2 separate regions of the Homo sapiens genome follow, and region 2 is linked to region 1. Evidence: promoter capture Hi-C in 16 types of primary human blood cells and fetal thymus (Javierre and others, 2016). All regions are on one chromosome and are shown on one strand. The core of a region is centred on a gene start or on the middle of the fragment in contact, and the rest is flanking DNA. Distances in the headings are between cores, read along the strand shown.

What was found. Contacts are between HindIII fragments. The CHiCAGO score rates a contact against its expected background, and 5 or more counts as called.
Region 2: a contact is called between a fragment that was not itself captured here and the fragment with the promoter of GARS1 in region 1, in 5 of 17 cell types (non-activated CD4 T cells, total B cells, activated CD4 T cells and 2 more). The highest score is 6.8, in non-activated CD4 T cells.

What each region holds. Positions count from the first base shown.
Region 1 is chr7:30,590,955-30,596,361 of GRCh38, forward strand. It overlaps GARS1 (glycyl-tRNA synthetase 1), which reads left to right and starts at 3,924. Exons shown (of 17, transcript NM_002047.4): 1 at 3,924-4,189. The coding sequence starts at 3,968. RefSeq lists enhancers at 3,379-3,992, 3,623-3,972, 3,993-4,606, 4,607-5,220 and a silencer at 5,116-5,215. The HindIII fragment of the contact is 4,590 bases long and covers 1,742-5,407 here.
Region 2 is chr7:30,055,803-30,061,279 of GRCh38, forward strand. It overlaps PLEKHA8 (pleckstrin homology domain containing A8), which reads left to right. Exons shown (of 14, transcript NM_001197026.2): 10 at 5,082-5,140. Among named protein-coding and RNA genes, the nearest start is that of PLEKHA8, 30 kb to the left of the region's middle. The HindIII fragment of the contact is 2,370 bases long and covers 2,963-5,332 here.

The sequences.
Region 1 (5,407 bases), core at 2,674-5,173:
ACAAAATCAATTATATTTCTCTACATTAACAGCAAATCAATGGAAAATAAAATAACATTCACAAGACTCAAAGAATAAAATACTTAGGAATATATTTATCAAAATGCATTCAGTGCTTTAAACTATGAATTCTCCCCAAATTAAACTACAGGTTCACAATTCCAGCAGGTATTTTTACAAAGTTGATAAGTCAATTCTAAAATTTATATAGAAATAGAAAGAACCTGGAATAGAAAAACAATTTTGAAAAAGAAGAAAGGGTAGACAATATACATTATTTGACTTCAGGAATTATCCTCAAGCAATAGTCATCAAGGAAGTGTGATACTAGCATAAAGATTGATAGATAAATGGATCATTAGAACAGAATAGAGACCCCAGATATAGGTCCACCTTATATGGTGAACTTATTTTTGACAAAGGCACTAGAGCTGATCAATGGCAGTAATTTTTTGTAAGCCCTACTTTTTTCCAACAAATGATGCTGTAGCAACTGGATATCTATATGGGAAGAATGAACTTTGACTCTTACCTAAAACTATACACAAAAGTTAATTCAAGATGCATCATAGACCTAAACATAAAACTACTAAAATTTTGGACAAAAATATGGGTGAATATCTGAGAGTAGGCAAAGATTTTTTAGAACCCAGAAAAAAAACAAATTGATAAATTAGACTTCATCAAAATTAAAAATTTCTGCTTATCAAAACCATCATTAACAAACAGGCAAGCCACAGACTGGAAGAAAATATTTATGAAACATGTACCTAGCAAAGGACTGTATCCAGCATATCTAAATCTCCTATAATTCAATATTAAAAAGCAAAGACAAAAAATGTGGATGTTTCACAAAAGAAGAGGTACAAATGACCACTAAGCACATGAAAACACAATCAACTCTATTAATCACCAGGAAAATGCATACAAGTCACAATGAGATACAACTATTAGAATAGCTAAAATCTGGAAGGCCGGCAACATCAAATGTTAACAAGGATGTGGAGCAACTAGAACTCTTATATATTGCTCTTAAGAACATAAAATAATACGACCACATTGGAAAAACTTGTGACAATCTAATAAAATTAAATATGCATCTATTGTTTGACTCAGTAATTCCGCACCTAGATATTTACCCAAGAGAAATGAAAACATATAGCTACAAAAAAAGATGTATGAGAATGTTCACAGCAGCATTATTCATAATGGTCTACAATATGAAACAACCCAAATGTCTATCAACTAGTGAATAAATTAATAAATTATAGTATATTCACACAATGGGATACTTCAGAGCAAAAAAGGGCAAGTTTCTGATATGTGAAACAATATGGATTAATCTCTCACACATTATGGTCAATTAAAGACATCAGACACAGAGTACATATTACATTATTTCATTTATACAACAGTCTAGATCTAAGAGGAAAATAAATGAGAATAGTGATCGCCTGGTTGTGGAGGGTGGGATGACCGGGATGACATGCAAGGGAACTTTGTGGAGTCAGGGGAAAATGTTCTTTATCTTGCTTGGTGTTGGGGTTACAAAAGGATATTGCTTTGTCGAAACCCATTGAACTATACATTTTTGTTCATTTTAATGTATGCAAAATTTATTTCCCTCAAAGAAATGAACTTTAATAAAGCAAGAAAAATATATGATCATACATACACAATACTAGGGCCTCTTGCAGGGCACTTAAAGAGCCCAACAGAGAAAGGGGCTAAACTCACTTGAAGCTTCATTAGCTATGTAGAAAATCTGCCTCTGCCCCCAGCTCACATTCTGGCCCAACACTCACTTAGTTGTGTGACCATGGACAAGCTGTTTGATATCTCAGTCCCTTGAATCCCACATGTGAAAATTCTGAATAACTATAGAACCTATCTCACTAAATTGGTGAATAAATTCCATGAGATAAATTAGAACTAACTGGTACATAGTGAGTGCTCAACAAACATAAACTATTATCATTATTGTGCAGACACAGTTTTCAAAAGAAAACTGTTTGGGAAATTCTTCCAAGGGCCATGAAGAGCCTACTGAAGTGTCCTGAGAAGAGAAGGGACACAGTCAGATTTGCCTTTCAGAAATAATGACTGGGCCGAGTGCAGTGGCTCACACCTGTAATCCCAGCACTTTGGAAGGCTGAGGCGGGCGGATCACGAGGTCAGGAGTTCGAGACCAGCATGACCAACATGGTGAAACCTCGTCTCTACTAAAAATAAAAAAATTAGCTGGGTGTGGTGGCGCACGCCTGTAATCCCAGCTACTCAGGAGGCTGAGGCAGGAGAATCGCCTGAACCCGGGAGGCGGAGGTTGCAGTGAGCCAAGATCACGCCACTGCACTCCAGCCTGGGTGAAAGAGCGAGACTCCGTCTGGAAAAAAAAAGAAAAAGAAAAAAGAAAGAAAGAATGACTGAAGCAGCAGTGGGGAGGATGAATTGGTCGGGGAGGAGGGAAGAACGGATTTGGAGTCCTTTCAGGACTGTCCTAACATGAAAATGGATGAGACATTATTGATCTAAGGAATTTTTTAGAAATAAAATAGTTTTATTCAAAGGATATAGAATTTCAACATTTTAATAAAAATCTAAATAAAAATAAAAGTAAAACTTAAAATGATTTTTCACATTTAAAGATATTAAAATAAATTCAAAATTGCCTAGTAAAATAAAAGCCAAATAAATTATAATTAATATCAAATCTTGAAATAAAAGTGTTTAAAAATATAATTGTTCAATATTGCAGAAGGTTCTTAAGCAACCCACCCTGCTCATGTTGAATTGTAAGTACTTCTCCAGAACTGCACACTGGAACGGGAAGAGAAATAACATGGACTTTCACACCATTAGGAAAGGAGACTTCATTATACTGAGCCCGTCTACTCCTGCACACTCCTGGGGTGGGATTGTGGGTCACAGGGAGACGTACGTGCATACTGCCGAAGAGCTCCCAAGTGGCTGGCTGCACCAGTTAACACTCCCCTGAGCAGTGTAGGGGAGTCTCAGAGGGTCACTTGGCATTTTCCATCATTTTCATTTTAGCCATTTTTGCAGGTGTGCGCAATGCTGTTTTTATAACCAACACATCATTTTTCTCTTCCTTTCCTGGAGGGGGAACCCAGCTTTTCTAGGCCCTCCACCCTTTGGGCAGGAGGAACTGGGTGTGTGGGGCGGGGGGAAGCCATCTCTGGGTGGTTGGTCAGCTGGGGCCTAACCACAGGAGGCAGATAGACTGAGGCTATGCCAAGCAGAAAGACTTATCAGGCACCTCTTGCCTTTCCTCATCTCTGCCGGTTCAAATCCTGCTCGCCCCGCAAGGGCAGATTGGAATTTACCTTCTCCAGAAAGCCTGGGGTGACTCTATCCCCTCACTCCTCCTCCCCCGTTCGCCAGCTTTTGTCTTGACATCGGCGGACCAAGAATGTGTGACTCTGGGCAAATCATTAACCTCTCTGGGCCTATTTCCTTATCTGGGGAACATCTGCACTTGAGCAACAGAAGTCTAAGATCCCTATCTGATTTGATGTTTTGCGACCCTTTTAAGGCGCAGGGCGCGAAAGAACAGAAACAGAAGTGTCCGTTCAAGTAGGTCGGCCGGGGTGTCACTCGTATAAAAACCTATGCTTTGAAGGTTCTCGTGTGTCTCGGCCTGCAGGTCTCGCTCAGAGCTGTGTCCCTGAACATCCACCCTGCTGGGGTGGCTTGACGCACTTCTGTGCAAATCTGTTCGCTCGCAACCCTACCTACCTCTCTCCCGAACCGGAGAAAACCTTCGGCGGGGTCCTTCCGGGTTTTGTGTCGAATCTGCGGCGGCGACCCGGCGCCGCGTCACGCGGTGGTGAATGTGCGGCAGCACGCGCGCCGCGTCGTTTACGCGGCGATTTCATCATGCTCCGAGCCGGGCGGCGCGCGCCGCTTCCGTCGCCACCCTCTCTGGACAGCCCAGGGCCGCAGGCTCATGCCCTCTCCGCGTCCAGTGCTGCTTAGAGGTGCTCGCGCCGCTCTGCTGCTGCTGCTGCCGCCCCGGCTCTTAGCCCGACCCTCGCTCCTGCTCCGCCGGTCCCTCAGCGCGGCCTCCTGCCCCCCGATCTCCTTGCCCGCCGCCGCCTCCCGGAGCAGCATGGACGGCGCGGGGGCTGAGGAGGTGCTGGCACCTCTGAGGCTAGCAGTGCGCCAGCAGGTACCGGTGTTTTGCGCTCTCCGCTAAGCCTCCGGCTCTCCTCCCAGGGCCTTCTTCTGGTCATCCTTCCCTCCTCCCCGGGGAACTGTCCTCCTCTTCGGTTACCCCTTTCTTTCCCTTCATCCTCTGGCGTCTTCTTCGCCTCCCCCACTTTGGTCCCAAGTCCCCCGTGCGTCAGCCACCTCCTCTCCCGCGGACCTCCGTCCTCCTCTCTTTTTGGATGACTCCCTGGAACCCCTCCGACTTCCTGCGTCCCTCTCCGGCTCCGTTCTCCCTTCCCCATTCTGTCACAGCCCGCGTCTCCTCTATTTCCAGTGGGGCTGGGATCTGTGACCCTTTGGTTGTCCTCGCCTCCTAACTGAATAACCTTAACTTCAGTTTTCCAGGCTCTGCTGTACTCTTTGTGCACCCTGGGTGGAAAGCCTCCTAATTCTTTCAGTGGTCAATGATGAGCCGAAAAACTGCCGGTTCTTTCGTCTTACGGCCAGGCCCTTTAATCTTTAGGATGCTTTGATAGTGTTTCCCCCTTAACATCTTCCTTCATTCAGTGCTTAGTTTAGCGGAATGATTGGCTGAGAAAATAGAATTGAAATGTGGATGTGGGGAGGTGTCGAACTTTTCTATTAATGCTGTGAACTCATCATCCTTTGCTCTTGTCATCTTTTCTGGCTTCTGAAAAGGCCGTTTGGAACCAGTGAGCCCTCAGATCGTAAACCTGGGAAACTAAGTGTTGCGGAGTGAAGTCAGCCATCCTTAGTATGGAATATTTTGACATTTGATTTTCCCGAAGGTGAGGGAAGGTTTCATGGGCTGAAGGACTTGGTGATTTAATATAGACCTCCTTTTCCTAGGGCACTGCCATAGAGTTTAGAATTTAGAGATATCAAGGAAAAGATTATTTCAGATGATTCCCATATGCAATTAGGGAGAGCCAGAGCTTGCAGTAGGACCCCGGAGATCATGACTTAGTAGTAAACACCAAACGGGTTTCTCCTGCATGGGCGCCTGATGCAATAATTTGCCTTAGCTACAGAGGGTGGAACCCTATCTCGGAAATAATTCATTGGGGCATAGCTGCCGCAAATTCAGCCACTTTGCCATCTGTCCTCTTCGCTGGTTTGAGCCTGACCGATTTTAATAAATAGCCTTTCATTTTGAAATATCACCACGGGCTTAACTTTTTTCTTCATGATTGGTGTCAGAACACCGATTGCATAT
Region 2 (5,477 bases), core at 2,898-5,397, 530 kb before region 1:
TATATGCGCATGCCCGGCTAATTTTTGTATTTTTTGTGGATATGGGTTTCGTCATGTTGCCCATACTGGTTTGGAACACCCGGGCTCAAGTGATCCTTCCCTCCCAAAATGTGAGCCACCATACCCAACCAAAACATATTTTCTTTTTTTTTTTTTTTGAGACGGAGTCTTGCTCTGTCACCCAGGCTGCAGTGCAGTGGCGGGATCTCCACTCACTGCAAGCTCCGCCCCCCAGGTTCATGCTGTTCTCCTGCCTCAGCCTCCCGAGTAGCTGGGACTTCAGGTGCCTGCCACCACACCTGGCTAATTTTTTTGTATTTTTAGTAGAGACAGGGTTTCACTGTGTTTGCCAGGATAGTCTTGATCTCCTGACCTCGTGATCCGCCTGCCTTGGCCTCCAAAAGTGCTGGGATTACAGGTGTGAGCCACCACGCCCGGCCTGCAAAACATATTTTCAAAGATTTTTAAAGATATATTCTCTCTCTCTCTCTCTCTCTCTCTCTCTCTCTCTATATATATATATATATATAAATAACATATATATAATATATATAACACATATATATATAAATAACATATATATAATATATATAACACATATATATAACATACATATATATGTAAATAAATAAAATGTATGTTATGGCTGGGCACAGTGGCTCACGCCTGTAATCCCAGCACTTTGGGAGGCTGAGGTGGGCGGATCACCTGAGATGAGGAGTTTGAGACCAGCCTGGCCAACATGGTAAAACCCCGTCTCTACTAAAAATACAAAAATTAGCTGAGTGTGGTGGCGCGCACCTGTAATCCCAGTTACTCAGGAGGCTGAGGCAGGAGAATTGCTTGAACCTGGGAGACGGAGGTTGCAGTGAGCCGAGATTGCACCACTGCACTCCAGCCTGGATGACAGACAGCCTGTCTCAAAAAAAAAAAAAAAAAAGTGTGTGTGTGTGTGTGTGTGTGTGTGTGTGTGTGTGTGTGTGTATATATATATGTTATGTGTATATATATGTTATGTATATATATGTTATATATATATTTAATAGATAAATATATCTGAAAATTTATATGTAACATTTAAATTATATGTAATTTATATCTAACAAATACATAATTTTATATATTATATATAATATATATTTATATATATAAAAAAGTTTATTTAGGTCAAATTCACTTTTACTTGTATAAAGTCAGTAATACCAACAATGGCTAATGTGTTGAAATTTGCTTTATGACCCATTTAACTATACATCTTTTGTAAAAATTGAGGTATAACTTGCGTAGGTCTTAACTGTTATGATTCAGTGAATTTTGACAAATGCATCTACCTCTCTAATCCATATCCTTATCAAGAAATAGTATGTTTTCATCACCCTGGAATGTTCCCTGTGTCACTCAGCCTGAAATAACCATTTTATTGATTTCTGTCACCATAGGTTAGTTCTGCCTATTCTAAAACTTGATATAACTGGAATATTATACTTTTTTGCCTCTGGCTTTTCTCATACAGTATGTTTTTGAGATCCGTCCTTGTTTTCTGTATCAGTAGTTCGTTCCTTTTTATTGCTAAGTAGTATTCCATTAAATGAATATACCACAATTATTTATTCACTCTCTTATGGATGGACTTTGGGCAGTTTGTAGTTTGGGACTCTTTTTTTTTTTTTCTTGAGACAGAGTCTTGCTCTGTCACCTAAGCTGGAGTGCAGTGGCACAATCTTGGCTCACTGCAACCTCCACCTCCCGGGTTCAAGTGATTCTCCTGCCCCAGCCTCCCAAGTAGCTGGGGTTACAGGCCTGTGCCACCATGCCTGGCCAATTTTTTTTGTATTTTTAATAGAGACAAGGTTTCACCATGTTGGCCAGGCTGGTCTCAAACTCCTGACCTCACATGATCTGCCCACCTCGGTCTCCCAAAGTGCTGGGATTACAGGAGTGAGCCACTGCTCTTGGCCAATTTGGGACTATTATAAATGAAATTGCTCTAAACATTTTTGTGCCTATGGGCCTATGCTTTCATTTCTCTTGAGTAAATACCTAGGACTGGAATTGCTGGTTCATAGTTTAACTTTATAATAAACTGCCAGACAGTTATAATGGTTGCACAGTTGTTCATAGTGTATGAGTATTTTAGTTGTTTGACTTCTTCACCAGCATTTGGTAGTGTCAATATTTTGTTTTTGGCATTCCTGAATGTTTTAGTGGTATTTCATTGTGGCTTTAATTTGCATTTCCATGATGACTAATGATATTGAGCACTTTTTTTTTATAATTATTGGCCATCCCTATCTCTTCCATTGTGAAATGTCTGTTCAGATCTTTCACCCATTTTTAAAAGTTAATTGTTTTTCTTTTTATTACTGAGTTGGGAGAGTTCTTTATATATTCTTAATTAAAATTCCATTGTAGACATGTGAATATTTTCCCCCAGAGCATGGCTTGCCTCCTCCTTTTCTTAATGATGCCTTTTCAGAAGTTTTAAATTTCCATGAAGTCCAGTTTCTTCTTTTATACTTAGTGCTTTTAGTGTCTTAAGAAATCTTTACCTATCCCAAAGGTCATGAAGATATTCTGTTTTCTTCTAGACTCTTCTAACTTTTACATTTGTGCCTATGAACCACTGGAATTATTTTTTGTGTGTGGTGTGAGGTAGGGAGTTGAGGTTCTTTTTTTTTTTTTTTTTTCCTTGTGGTAACTGGTTGCTCAAGAACCGTGGGTCAAAATATGTTTTCCTTTTTACATTGCTTTGGCAGCTCTGTCAAAAACCAATTGAACTTATAATGCTTATAATATGGGACTGTTTCTGGACTCTCTTTTCTGTTCCAATGATCTTATGGTGTCTTAATTATTATAAGGCTTGAAATCAGATAATGTAAGTCTCTCAGTTTTTTCTTTTTCAAGATTGTTATGGAAATTCTAGGCCTTTTGATAAATTTTAGCTGTTCAATTCCTATTTAAAAGCTTTTTAGGATTTTGATTAAGATTACATTATATCTCTAAACCAATTAGGGGAAAGCTGACATCTTAAACAACATCGAAGGCTGGGCTCACTGGCTTATAACTGTAATCCCAGCACTTTGGGAGGCCAAGGCAGGAGGATCGCTTGAAACCAGGAGTTTGATCCTGGCCTAGGCAACAAAGTAAGACCCTGTCTCTATGAAAAAAATTAGCCAGGTGTGATGGCGCAAGCCTGTAGTCCCAGCTACTTGGGAGGCTGATGCAGGAGAATCACACGAGCCTGGGATATCAAGGCTGCAGTGAGCCGTGGCTGCACCACTGCACTCCATCCTAGTTGACAGAGCAAGACCCTGTCTCAAAAACAAAAGCATTGAGTCTTCCAATCCATGAGGATGCTGTATCTATTTACTTAAGTCATTTTAATTTTCTCTGAAGAATGTTCTATCTAGTTTTTAGTGTATAGCTATCATATTCTTTTGTTAGGAATAAGTTTTAGAATTTTATTTTTTTATTCTGTTGTAAAAAGTGTTTTATTTCATTTTCCGATTATTAATAGCATGTACATGCAAATTATGTTTATATGCTGAGTTGTTTTTATAATCATGAATGAGTTAACTTCATAAAATGCTTTTTCTGTATTTGCTGAAGTCATTTTTTTCCTGTAATTTGTTAATGTAATGAATTACATTGTTTGGATGAATTTCATTCATTATCTTGGTATTTGTTTCTATCATCTTGCTACTTATTTTCTGCTTTTCTCTGTATGTTCTTTGTTCCCTTTTTACTCCTTTCCTGATCTCTAGCCAGTTAATCAATTTTTTTTTTAGTATTCTGTTTTATTTCCTCTTTTGGCCTCTTAGCTACCTATCTTTGTCCCTGCCTTTCTTTTAGATCAATCAAGTATTTTTTTTTTTTTTTTAAGAATTCCTCTATCTTTTCTCTTTTGGCTTTTTAGCTATACCTCTTTGTTTTATTTTTTAGTCATTGTTCTTGCCCAACAGAAATATTCAAACCACATATGTAATTTTAAGTTTTCTAGTAGGCATATTAACATAGTAAACACAAATTAATTTTAATTATTTTAAAACCTAGAATATCTAAAATATCTTAACATGTAATAAATATAAAAGAATCATTGGGCCGGGCATGGTGGCTCACGCCTGTAATCCCAGCACTTTGGGAGGCCGAGGCAAGTGGGTCACAAAGTCAGGAGATCGAGACCGTCTTGGCCAACGTGATGGCACATGCCTGTAATCCCAGTTACCTGGGAGGCTGAGGCAGGAGAATCGCTTGAACCAGGGAGTCGGAGGTTGCAGTGAGCTGAGATCATGCCACTGCACTCTAGCCTGGTGACAGAGCGAGACTCCGTCCCCCCAGAAAAAAGAATCATTAATGAGTCTGAGCATGGTGGCTCACGCCTGTAATCCCAGCACTTTGGGAGGCTGAGGTGGGCAGATGACTTGAGATTAGGAGTTCGAGACCAGCCTGGCCAACATGGTGAAGCCCGTCTCTACTGAAAATACAAAAATTAGCTGGGCGTGGTGGTGGGCATCTGTAATCTCAGCTACTCGGGAGGCTGAGGGAGAATCGCTTGAACCTGGGAGGTGGAGGTTGCAGTGAGCCGAGATCATGCTACTCCACTCCAGCCTGGGGACAGAGCGAGAGACTCCATCTCAAAAAAACAAACAAACCGAAAGAATCATTAATGAGATATTTTGCAATCTCTTTTTCATACTCAGTCTTCCTAATCTGGTACGTATTTTACTTCCAGTACATTTTGGTTAGTACTAGCCACGCTGCAAGTACTAACTAGCCACATATCTGGTGGCTACCATATTGGACAGTGCAGCCCTAAGGATTACTATATGAATCCTAAACTTATAAGATTATCTTCATCTCACCTGTCACTTAGGGCCTCATTATAACTCACCTTGGAGTAGTGTAATAGAAAAAGATGGTAATAGTATCCTGGGAGCTTTTGAAGATTATGTTTAGATAAATGATTTGGAAGCAAAAATTAAAGTTGTTGGGGATCTGCTAAATTTATTATTACTTTATTATAAAAAATATTGCCACTTAAAAATTGCTTTTTCAGAAATGTTTTTAATCTTTTCTTCTAGACAAACTTGGCCCTACAGTGTTTGCTCCTGTTAAGATGGATCTTGTTGGAAATATTAAGGTGAGCATACTGGTTTGTCTCTGTGGAAACTTTTAAATAAAGGAAAATGTTCTCAACATTTTTGTGCTTGGCCAGAATAAATCAAAAAGTGAAAAATGTGTCACTGTTCTTTTAAGAGAGCAAGCATCTTTCTTCTCACACTGTGAATGCTCAGTAAGGGAATTACTAAGCCTTTATTATATGCTAGAGTTAAGCTTTATGGGGAGTAGAAGATTCATTTTTAAAATGAAACCAGGACTGCCTTTTCATGTGCACCGTGTGGATCAGTAGGGTTTCACTCTAATGTCCACACTGATTCTGTGCTTTTTTAGGTTTAAATGGTGATAAGTTATATTTT